2 separate regions of the Homo sapiens genome follow, and region 1 is linked to region 2. The links are contacts of gene promoters, found by promoter capture Hi-C in human tissues and cell types (Jung and others, 2019). All regions are on one chromosome and are shown on one strand. The core of a region is centred on a gene start or on the middle of the fragment in contact, and the rest is flanking DNA. Distances in the headings are between cores, read along the strand shown.

Region 1 (5,623 bases), core at 2,140-4,639, 150 kb after region 2:
AGTTTAAGACAAGCCTGGCCAACATGGCAAAACCCTGTCTCTACTAAAAGCACAAAAATAAGCTGGGCGTGGTGGTGCATACCTGTAATCCCAACTACACGGGAGGCTGAGGCACCAGAATCACTTGAACCTGGAAGAGGAAGATTGCAGTGAGCCAAGATTGAGCCACTGCACTCCAGCCTGGGCGACAGGGCAAGACTGTTTCCAAAAAAAAAAAAAAGCCAGCAGCATGGTGTTGGATCCTCTACTGACTCTCCCAGCCGAGGCCTTTCCCTGCCTGCCTGCCTCCAAGTACAGTATGTGGAATTTCCACGCAAGCACGGCTCCCTTTCCTCGGATGGCTGACTCTTTGTGCTGCTGTGGTCCTGCATGTTCCAGGAGCTTCACCCAGTGAGGACCAGGCTGGGAGAGAGGCTGCAGGCCATGCTGTGCCTCCCTGTGGACACTAGGGGGCAGAACCATCCCTAGCCCAGGCAGGGTTGGCCCTTTGCACAGAGGGTGCATTCTCACAAAGGAGGCGGTGGCCCAAGAAACACCTGCACTCCTGTTTGCTTTTCATTTCATGCACTTTTTTTTTTTTTTTTTGAGACAGGGTCTCATTCCAATTGCCCAGGCTGGAGTGCAGTGGCATGATCTCAGCTCACTGCAGCCTCGACCTTCAGGGCTCAGCTGATTCTCCCACCTTAGCCTCCTGAGTAGCTGGGACTACAGGCACGCACCACTATGGCCAGCTAATTATTTGTATTTTTGGTAGAAATGAAGTTTTGCCATGTTGCCCAGGCTGGTCTCAAACTCCTGAGCTCAGGTGATCTGCCCACCTCAGCCTCCCCAAGTGATGGGATTACAGGCATGAGCCACCACACCCGGCCTTCATGCGCTTCTTATACCACGCAGCTAGATTTCTACCCTGCCTTATCACAGTTTGAGGGAGAGAAGCAGTTTTGAAAACCCCTCTCTCCATACTCCCCCTCAGAAATATAAAAATAAAAGCAGGTTTGTCAGAAGAGACACCCACCTCTCAAAATCTCCTCTCTCAGTTCACACCCAACAGCTAAGTCACACTCACGGGAACACCTGCATGATCATGGTGTAGTGGGAAGCGGTTCTGCCAATTATCAGCATTAGATCTGGGCCAAGTTGAGCCAGTTTCCTGCAAAGGGAAGCTCTTTCCTTCCTCATGGACATAATGCATGAAGGCACCCAACAATGGCAGGATCCTCGGAAATGTTCCTTGGCTCTGGGTTTGGCTGTAGATTGACTGTTTTTGTTTTGTTTGAGACAGAGTCTTGCTCTGTCACCCAGAGTGCAGTGGCGCAATCTCAGCTCACTGCTACCTCAGCCTCCCGGGTTCAAGCAATCTTCCTGCCTCAGCCTCCCCAGTAGCTGGGACTACAGTCACGCACCACCATGCCTGGCTAATTTTTGTATTTTGGTAGAGAGGGGTTTCACCATGTAGGCCAGGCTGGTTTCAAACTTCTGACCTCAAATGATGCACCCCACTCAGCCTCCCAAAGTGCCGGGATTACAGGTATGAGCCACTGCGCCCAGTGACTGACTGCTTTTTGAGACAGCCAGATAGTGGACAAAAGGTTTAATGCTTGGGACATCCGTGGAGCTGAGCCCTTCCTTCTCTCTGAGTCTGCCCCAAAAACTGTCTTTACGGTGAAACCCTGTCTCTACTAAAAATACAAAAAATTAGCCAGGTGTGGTGGCGGGTGCCTGTGGCCCCAGCTACTCAGGAGGCTGAGGCAGGAGAATAGCGTGAACCCGAGAGGCGGAGTTTGCAGTGAGCCGAGATTGTGCCACTACACCCCAGCCTGGGTGACAGAGTGAGACTCCGTCTAAAAAAAAAAAAAAACAAAAACAAAAACAAAAAAAACTCTGTCTTTAGAGCAATCAATTGTACTGGGAAGGCATTTCAGAAGGGACGCATCTATAACAACTTTATATAGGCTGTTTCCTCGAGTGCTCCCATTCCTAGGAGCACACCTTTCTTACTAAATCGAATATTCCTGCACCAATGTACAATTCCTGCCAACAGCGCACAAGAAGGTCATTTTCCCCCACATAATACTGGCCATTATCAATCTAAAAATTTTGCCAACATGATGTGCAAAACTATCTTATCCTAGTTTGCATTTCTCTGATTAATTAGGTTGAGGATATTTTCTTTTGTTTTTTTGTTTTTCGAGACAAAGTCTCGCTCTTGTCGCCCAGGCTGGAGCGCAACAGCACGATGTCTGCTCACTGCAACCTCCGCCTCCCGGGTTCAAGTGATTCTCCTGCCTCAGCCTCCCAAGTAGCTGCTATTACAGGCGCCTGCCACCATGCCCGGCTAATATTTGTATTTTTAGCAGAGACAGGGTTTCACCATATCGGCAAGGCTGGTCTTGAACTCCTGACCTCAGGTGATCCACCTGCCTCAGCTTCCCAAACTGCTGGGATTATAGGCATGAGCCACCGCGCCTGGCCTATTTTCATATTTTTTTTTCTGGGTGTTACCTGCTTATATGTCTTGTCCATTATTATATTTTCATATTCACAGGAATTTTAAAAATACTTTATGGATACTAATTTCCATCTGTTTTCCATGTTGTATCTTCTCTCCATCTGTTTCATACCTTTAAGCTTTGTTTGTGTCATCTTTTATCATACAGAATGTGACCTATGGCCAGGCATAGTGGCCCATGCCTATAATCCCAGAACTTTGGGAGGCCAAGGCAGGCGGATCACTTGAGGTCAGGAGATTGAGACCGGCCTAGCCAACATGGTGAAACCCCGTCTCTACTAAAAATACAAAAATTAGCCGGGCATGGTGGCATGCGCCTGTAATCCTGCTACTCAGGAGGCTGAGGCAGGAGAATCGCTTGAATGAGATCACGCCATTGCACTCCAGCCTGGGCAGCAGAGTAAGACTCTGTCTCAAAAAACACACAAACAACAAAACAACAACAAAAACCAAAATGTGACCTATGTGATTTGTCTTTGTTAGAATTTATGGAGATTTTGTTTCCTATAGTTTATTTCTTACTTGTCTATTAGTCATGTGGGAAAGCATATTATAGTCTCCTAGTCCTTTGGCTTATTAAATTCTGATTGTGTCTAATAGTTTTTGCTTCGTGAATCTCATGGGTATGCGGTCAGTTATTTTAAGTACATGATTTTGAGAACCTCTTTGTGAATTTTAACTTTTTTTTTTTTTTTTGAGACAAGAGTCTTACTCTGTCACTCAGGCTGGAGTGCAGTGGCAGGATCTCGGCTCGCTGCAGCCTCTGTCTCCCAGGTTCAAGTGATTCTCCTGCCTCAGTCCCCTGAGTAGCTGGGATTACAGGTGCCTGCCACCATGCCCAGCTAATTTTTGTATTTTGAGTAGAGACGGTGTTTCACCATGTTGGCCAGGCTTATGTCAAACTCCTGACCTCAGGTGATCTGCCCACCTGGGCCTCCCAAAGTGCTGGCATCACAGATGTGAGCCACCACGCCCAGCCAACTTTTATCAATATAAAATGTTTCTTCTTATAGCCCTCCAAAACGATAAAATAAAAACAAAAGCAGCTAATCAGCTCACAGTGGCACAGTGAGAAGGCTGTGGGCAGAGCATGAGTCAAGAAGTCTGGGCTCTGGTCTCAGCTTGGTCGCTCTGTGGCCTGCATGACTAGGGAAATTGCTTAACTGCCTTATCTGTCAAATGGCCAAATTTTAAGGGTTCCTTCCAGCCCTCAAAACTCTATGATCAGAGGCACTTGGGTAGGCTCTGGGGTGGGGATAATAACTTACCAAAGCTGTAACTTTCAGTTAGCATCCGACTGGCTGGCAGTGAGGGTGGAGAAGAGAAGGGTGGGTAGAGGAAGGGAGAAAGAAAGAGTGTATGTCACTGGCTTTTCCCCAGACATCTGAGCCTGACGGCGAGCACTGCAGCTGCCCTCCCATGTGTCCAGGATGTCCAATGGCAGAAGGCACCCAAAGGCTATGAAGACTCAATGTGTAGAGCTTAGGAAGGAGCAGAATGCTTTAAGAAGGCCTGAAGAGTCTCTTGCAATGGCTAAATAACATAGTTTATTTGGTTTTGTTTGTTCGTTCGTTTGTTTTGAGATGGGGTCTCACTCTGTCACCCAGACTGGAGTGCAATGGCACAATAATCACTCACTACAGCCTCAAACTCCTGGGCTCAAGCGATCCTCCCACCTCGGCCTCCCAAAGTGTTAGGATTGCAGGCGTGAGCCATTGTGGCTGGCAGCAACATAGAGTTTACAGGCCTTTGGTCTTAGAGGGATGGATGAGGACTTCTGGAGACTACCTTGACCCTTGACCCTTTGGGACAGCGTACTATGCAGACAAGAGCACCTTAGAGAAAAAGTCACGTCCATTTTCAATTTTTCTAGGACTCAGGTCTTCCATACTTCCTAGTGAAAAGTTTCCTAGTGTATAACCCACACAGCTCCTGCTGCAATCTTAGTCATTTTCCTTTCATGAAAAAGCAGAACAGTAGAGCCCCCTCTCCCTGACAAGAATGTGTCAGACACGCTCATCCTCTCCTGGAGCTGCTTCTCTTTGTGCTTTGCTGCTTTGAGCAGTTCTTTAGGATAGTGAGGATATGAATGGTGATTTATAGACATGAACAAATGGACACGGTTGGAAGAGAAAGGAAGCCAGTGGGGCAGAGTTTACCTGCAGGAGTTGGCTGGGCCTGGAACGAGGCTTGACCAGCTGGAGGGAGGCTTCCAAACACAGAAGAGCTGGGGCCACTGCTAAAGGCATCAAAGTTGGCAAAGCCTCCTTGGGAAGGTGTCTGGCCTGTAGGTGGAAGAAACATAAAGGTTATATAGAAAATTGTCGGGTGTGGTAGCTCACGCCTGTAATTCCAGCACTTTGGGAGGCCGAGGTGGGCAGATCACTTGAGGTCAGAAGTTCAAGACCAGCCTGGTCAACATGGTGAAATCTGTCTCTACTAAAAATATAAAAATTAGCTGGGCGTGGTGGTACATGCCTGTAATCCCAGCTACCTTGGAGGCTGAGGCATGAGAATTGCTTAAACCTGGGAGGTGGAGCTAGCAGTGAGCCGAGATTGTGCCACTCTACTCTAGCCTGGGTGACAGAATGAGACTCTGACTCAAAAAAAAAAAAAAAAAAAAAAAAAAAACCACACACACACAACAGAAAAAGAAAAGAAAATGTATATGCCTATCCATGTAATATAGCTACTAATTCTAAAGGCCAAAGGCCACTCTTATGGGACATCTGCCTTTCCACAGGGTTCTCTTCAGAGGGAAATGGGTGGGGCCTGGGGCCAAGAGCCAGACCCACACAGGGGAACAGGGGCACCCAGGGCCTCCAGGTTCACTCCCTGCCCTCTTCTGTCCTTACTCCATGAGGCATTAACATTTTTGTCAGGGCCTAGTTTGGAGCATGAAAATTTTTTTTCATGGAGGAAGGAGCTTGAATTTTTTTTTTTTTTTTTTTTTTTTTGAGACGGAGTCTCACTCTGTCACCTAGGCTGGAGTCCAGTGATGCAATTGTGATTCACTGCAACCTCCACCTCCTAGGTTCAAGCAATTCTCCTGCCTTAGCCTCCCAAGTAGCTGGGACTACAGGCACATGCCACCACACTTGGCTAATTTTTTTT
Region 2 (6,000 bases), core at 1,910-4,409:
GCTTTTTCTTTTTTTAAGAAGCTGTGACCCACAAATGGGTCACAACCCGCTTTGATAAACATTGCTTTAGTTGACTTTAGTTTGATAAATATGAAAAATCAGGTCATCCCACAAATATCCAAACAGAAAGTATTACCTGTGTGCCCAGTAATTATTTGGAGTGAGGGGTTCCTTCGCCACTGGAGCAGCCCAGTGAGAAGGGTCTGAAGGCCGGGCGCAGTGGCTCATGCCTGTAATCCCAGCACTTTGGGTGGCCAAGGCAGGCAGAACGCTTCAGGTCAGAAGTTTGAGACCAGCCTGGCTGACATGGTGAAACCCCTTCTCTACTAAAAATACAAAAAATTGCAGGGCATGGTGATGGATGCCTATAGTCCCGGCTACTCAGGAGGCTGAGGCAGAAGAATCCCTTGAACCCAGGAGGCAGAGGTTGCAGTGAGCTGAGATCGCACCACTGCACTCCAGCCTGGATGACAGAGTGAAGCTGTCTCAAAAAAAAAAAAAAAAAAAAAAAAGGGTCTGAAGGGCTCTGCACCTGAAAGCCCGGGTATCATCTAGGTAGGCCCTGCAGGTCCAGGAATTAAATGAAGCCACTTGTCAGTCCCTACCATGGAGCCTGACACTAAGAAGGTCCTGAAGTCTTAGTTTGCTTCCTTTTTTTTTTTTTTTTTTTTTTTGAGATACGGTCTTGCTGTGTCAGCAAGGCTGGAGGAGTGTAGTGCGGTGATCACAGCTCACTGCAGCCTTGAACTCCTGGGCTCAAGCGATCCTCCTGCCTCAGCTAACGAGGTAGCTGGGATTATAGGTGCAAACCACTACACCCATCTAGTTTTCAAAAATTTTTTGCATTTGGGAGGCCAAGGCGGGCAGATCACTTGAGGTCAGGAGTTCGAGAACAGCCTGGCCAACATGGTGTTTCCACTAAAAAAATACAAAAATAATTAGCTGGGCGTGGTGGCACTCACCTGTAATTCCAGCTACTGGGGAGGATGAAGCAGGAGAATCACTTGAACCCAGGAGCCGAACGTTGCAGTGAGCCAAGATGGCACCACTGTACTCCAGCCTGGGTGACAGAGCAAGACTTCATCTCAGAAAAAAAAAAAAAGTGGTTTTTTTGCATAGACTAGGTCTCAGTATGTCATCTAGATTGGAGTGCAGGTGGCATGATCATAACTCACTGCACCTTCAAACTCCCAGGCTCAAGCACTCTTTCCGCCTCAGCCTCCGCCAGTAGCTCAGACTACAGGCTGGAGCCACTGCACCCAACTAGAAGACGAAAATCTTTAAAACAAACATTGGGGCTGGGCACGGTGGCTCACGCCTGTAATCCTAGCACTTTGGGAGGCCGAGATGGGTGGATCACAAGGTCAGGAGATCGAGAACATCCCTGCTAACACGCTGAAACCCTGTCTCTACTAAAAATACAAAAAAATTAGCCAGGGTGTGGTGGCAGGCACCTGTAGTCCCAGCTACTCAGGAGGCTGAGGCAGGAGAATGGCGTGAACTCAGGAGGTGGAGCTTGCAGTGAGCCAAGATTGCACCACTGCACTCCAGCCTGGGTGACAGAGTGAGACTCTGTCTCAAAAAACAAACAAACAAACAAACATTGGGATGACTGGGTTTCTGCACTGTACTGTTTTGTTACACTGCTCATAGCATAATCTATGCTCTCTATAGAGGCAAGAAACACTTGGGTTCCCCTTTCACCTAGATACCTGTAGCGTTTCCTACCATCCCTATTCAGGCACACACAGAATTTACACAGGAAAGAATCAGTGGCAGTGGGATGGCAGGACACTAGTGCAACAGGATTTTTTATTTATATGGCAATAGTTACAGACCGCATACACACACTCAGGAAGGCCCACTAACTGGGCCCACCAAGAGACAATTACCCCCACCCTCAATGCAGAGTCCTTTGGGCTTCCAGGGAACAGGCCTTTTCTTACATGGCTCTGGTCCGAGGTCCAGTACTCAGCATGCGAAGAGCCATATCACGGAGGGGATAAGTGGAGGAGTGTCTTTTCAATTACTTGGGTGTGACCCTGAAGACTCGGATGTGGATGGCTGAGTTGTTGCGGATCCGAGTCAGTGGCTCCCGTGTGTCGGTCTCTGGCTCCAGCTCATCAACAAGCTCCACGGTGGAGGTATTGGCAGCCACCTGCAAGGACCCGAAGCTGCCCGCCTGCAGCTGCAGCGCGATGTTGATGGCGCGGTTGATGGCCAGGCCCAAGCCGTGAATGTAGATCTCAGAGCACGCGTTCTGACCCCGGGCCCCTCCGTCCAGCAGCTTCTGGCAGCGGGCCAGCTGGGCCTTAAAGTCCGTCTTCATGTTGACATAAATGTCATTGGGTCTCCGGGGCAGGCGGCTGGGAAGCCTTTTCCTAAGGGTGTATTCCACTGGATCCAGTTCAGCCTCCACAGCACCGCGGGGCTCTCGGTTTTCTGCCATGCTGTGTGCCCTGGCGTGGGAAAGGGACGCGATCAGAGGGCTCAGAGGGACCTCGAAGCCTTTCCTACCCCTTTTCCTGTACAAAGGGTGCACCTGGCCGGGCAGTGGCTCACGCCTGTAACCTCAGCACTTTGGAAGGTCGAGGCGGGAGGATCACTGGAGCCCGGGTGTTTGAGATCAGCCTGGGCAACATAGCAAGACCCTGTCTTAAGAAAAATTTTTTTAATTACCCGGGCCGAGGGGGGAGGATCGCTTGAGATCGGGAGTTCGAGGCTACAGTGAGCCGTGATCGCGCCCGCCACTGCACTCTAGCTTGGGAAACAGAGCAAGCCTCTGTCTCAAACAAAAACAAAAACAAAAATAAAGGGTGCACCCGAGAAGGGACACACTCGATGTCCCTGTTTCCTTCCGGCCCCTCGTCCTCTCCCACTCACCTCCAGATCCCGCGTCTCCCCACCCCCCGTTCCGATTCATTCATCGCGTCGCCCTCAAACTCGCGCCCCTCCGCCGCCCCTCCCGTGCTTACTCTCTTCGTTCCACAGGGCCCTCCAGGCGCGCGAGGCCCGCTCCCCGCCAGGCCACTCAAGGGTTCGCCGGCCAGCCCAAGTAACCGCGACCCCAGGTCCCAGAGAAAGAAGGATGTGGGTGCAAGCAGCCAGCCAGCTCGTGGGCGCCCTGCCCGCGCCGGGGTCCTGAACGGGCTGCGGAGTGCGCACGCGCGCCCGTACCCCGCGAGCTATGAATCGCCTTCCCGGCTTCCGTTCGCCCCGCCCCTTCCCTGAGCGCAAGGGCGACTGCGCGAGGCGTTTGAGAAACGCGAGACTTCCGGGCGTGACGGGATCTACACGTGTACGCCTCGGGAACTGGCGGGCGGCCGAGGGCGGGAACCAGGTCCGAGCCGGGGAGGAGCTAGAAAGGGCCGGGTCGGCGTCTCTAGGCCTGGCGGAGTTCCCGGCCGGCGGAGGGGTAGCGTAGGGAAGACACCTGGAGGGGAGGCTGTTCTAGGGGCAGGGTTCTTCCCCATGGGAGCAGGGAAGGGGCCGAGTTCAGGAGACCGCGGTCGCCAAGGGGCCTGAACTCCGCGTCCGTCGCAGCTCCTCTGGTCAGAAGAGGCCTGGGCAGGGCTGGCAGAACTGACCCCCTAGTCTAATGTCCCTGTGGCCCGAGGACCGAGGGGGAACTGAGGGACATAGCCGGTCCCCACCTCGCTGGAGGACAGCGTCCCGGGACTCCCCTGCAGTTCACGGGAAGCTGTCCGCCTCCTGTCTGTGCTGGGGACCCACGCTGTGAGCCCTAAGCCCAGGCTTCACGGGTCCCCAAGGAACGCTGACCCACCCACGCCCCTCAACCATCTCCCACCAGCTCTGCAGCAGGCGACCCCGGATCAGGGACTTGCCGCCCCCTGGCGGGCAAGGTGGGGAGGACGCGCGCCGGATTCGTGGCTCTCAGGCCAGTGGAGTGGGGGCTCTGCCCAGATGGGCATAGTTTCTGCAGAGTTCCCTTCTGAAATGAGTAGGACCTGCTGCACTGGGGACCTTGAACTACTCTGTTTGCCCAGCATTCAAATGGGGATGTTCACAACAGCTCCACCATATTGCACATGCATTTTATTGAATGGCTAGCTGTATAGCTTCTGTCTACAAACTTGCATGCATTTATTTTTGAGACAGGGTCTCTGTGGCCCAGGCTGGACTGCAGTGGTGTGATCTCAGCTCACTACAACCTCTGCCTACCGGGTTCAAACGATTCTTGTGCCTCAGCCTCTTGAGTAGCTGGAATTACAGGCGCACGCCACCGCACCCGGCCAGTTTATTTCATTTTTTTGAGACAGGGCCTTACTCTGTCACCCAGGCTGGAGTGCAGTGGCGTTAACACGGCTCACTGCAGCCCTGAACTCCTGGGCTCAAGCAATTCTCCCGCCCCAGCCACCTGAACAGCTTGGACTACGGGCATGCACTAGCATATAAAGTTGTATTTTAGAAGTTAATCCTTGGTATTGAAATTTTCGATATGTTGGCCGGGCGCGGTGGCTCACGCCTGTAATCCCAGCACTTTGGGAGGCTGAGACGAGCGGATCACGAGGTCAGGAGATCGAGACCATCCTGGCTAACACGGTGAAACCCCGCCTCTACTAAAAATACAAAAAATTAGCCGGGCATGGTGGCAGGCGCCTGTAGTCCCAGCTACTCGGGAGGCTGAGGCAGGAGAATGGCGTGAACCCACGAGGCGGAGCTTGCAGAGAGCCAAGATCGCGCCACTGCACTCCAGCCTGGGGGACAGAGCCAGACTCCATCTCAAAAAAAAAAAAAAAGAAATTTTCGAAATGTTCACATAATTGTTGGGAGCGATTCATTCCTCCTCACATGATGTGCCTCCTCTCTCCCATATCCTGTTAATTGTAGCAGTTGCGGGCATTTGCGATGACAGGATATACGGATGGTGCCACACTTGACCTTGAGTACTGGAATGCTCTGAGGTCAAGCATATGCCACAGTGCTTGAGACTGTGGGCATCACCTGTAGTGTCTTTTTCTCCAACTCCTGTCTCCTTGGTCCTAGGGAGGTCTGGCTCTAATTGCTAGTTTCCAGAGATTCATTCCTTTTTTTTTTTTTGAGACGGAGTCTCGCTCCGTTGCCCAGGCTGGAGTGCAGAGGCACGATCTCAGCTTACCGCAACCTCTGCCTCTGAGGTTAAAGCGATTCTCCTGCCTCAGCCTCCTGAGTAGCTGGGATTACAGGTGTGCACCACCACGCCCGGCTAATTTTTGTATTTTCAGTAGAGATGGGGTTTCACCATGTTGGCCAGGCTGGTCTCAAACTCCTGATCTCAAGTGATCCTCCTACCTTGGCCTCCTAAAGTGCTGGGATGACAGGCTTGAGCTATTGTGCCCAGCCTCATTTTTAAGCTTTGGATCACAGGAAGAAGCAACAAGAAACTATACCCAACTCAAAACATTTTAGGAGAATCATAAAATTGGTCCATTTAGAAGGTAGAGTTGGGTCCATTAAGTTATTGTTGCAAGAGGTTGCATATTCAATGATCAGTTATATAAAATAATGTTCTCGTTAGTATGCTTTTCATAATCTGTTTTATCATACATGTAACATTCAAACTGACAAATACACTGACTTGGGAATAAAGGATATGAAAACACTGGTTTAAAAAAAATGGGGATGCTAATTCCTTTCTTGCAGTTGAGTTGTGAAACCCAAGGTAATGTTGTAAACTGTAAACCTACACAGGTGAGTTGGCATATTTATGTCTCCCAGGCCCTTCTCAGTTCCCTAGGATGGAGTCTGACCCCATTTGATCAAAGGTTGAAGAGAGTTCAGATTCTAGAGAAATTTGCTCCCAGCACCCCATTTCAATCCCATAGTTCTTTCCTTTACTTCAGATTCTTTCATTAACCACAAGATTGGGATTGAATTGGAAGATCCAACATATTATAGTAAAGATACCAATTCTCTTCAAATTAATCTATAGGGGCCAAGCATGGTGGCTCACGCCTTTAATCCCAGCACTTTGGAGGCCAAGGTGGGCAGATCACTTGA

What was found. The method cuts DNA at HindIII sites, captures the fragments that hold promoters and counts their contacts. A contact is called where the count stands out against the background at its distance.
Region 1: a fragment that was not itself captured here is called in contact with the fragment with the promoter of POP7 in region 2 in 1 of the 25 tissues and cell types used here (aorta).

The regions. Positions count from the first base shown.
Region 1 is chr7:100,554,781-100,560,403 of GRCh38, reverse strand. It overlaps AGFG2 (ArfGAP with FG repeats 2), which reads right to left. Exons shown (of 12, transcript NM_006076.5): 6 at 4,669-4,794. Among named protein-coding and RNA genes, the nearest start is that of SAP25, 16 kb to the left of the region's middle. RefSeq lists enhancers at 300-349, 620-669. The HindIII fragment of the contact is 7,017 bases long and covers 1-5,623 here.
Region 2 is chr7:100,703,280-100,709,279 of GRCh38, reverse strand. POP7 (POP7 ribonuclease P/MRP subunit) reads right to left here and starts at 3,159. Exons shown (of 2, transcript NM_005837.3): 1 at 2,976-3,159; 2 at 1,794-2,459. The coding sequence starts at 2,449. The coding sequence ends at 2,027. RefSeq lists an enhancer at 3,551-3,820. The HindIII fragment of the contact is 15,036 bases long and covers 1-6,000 here.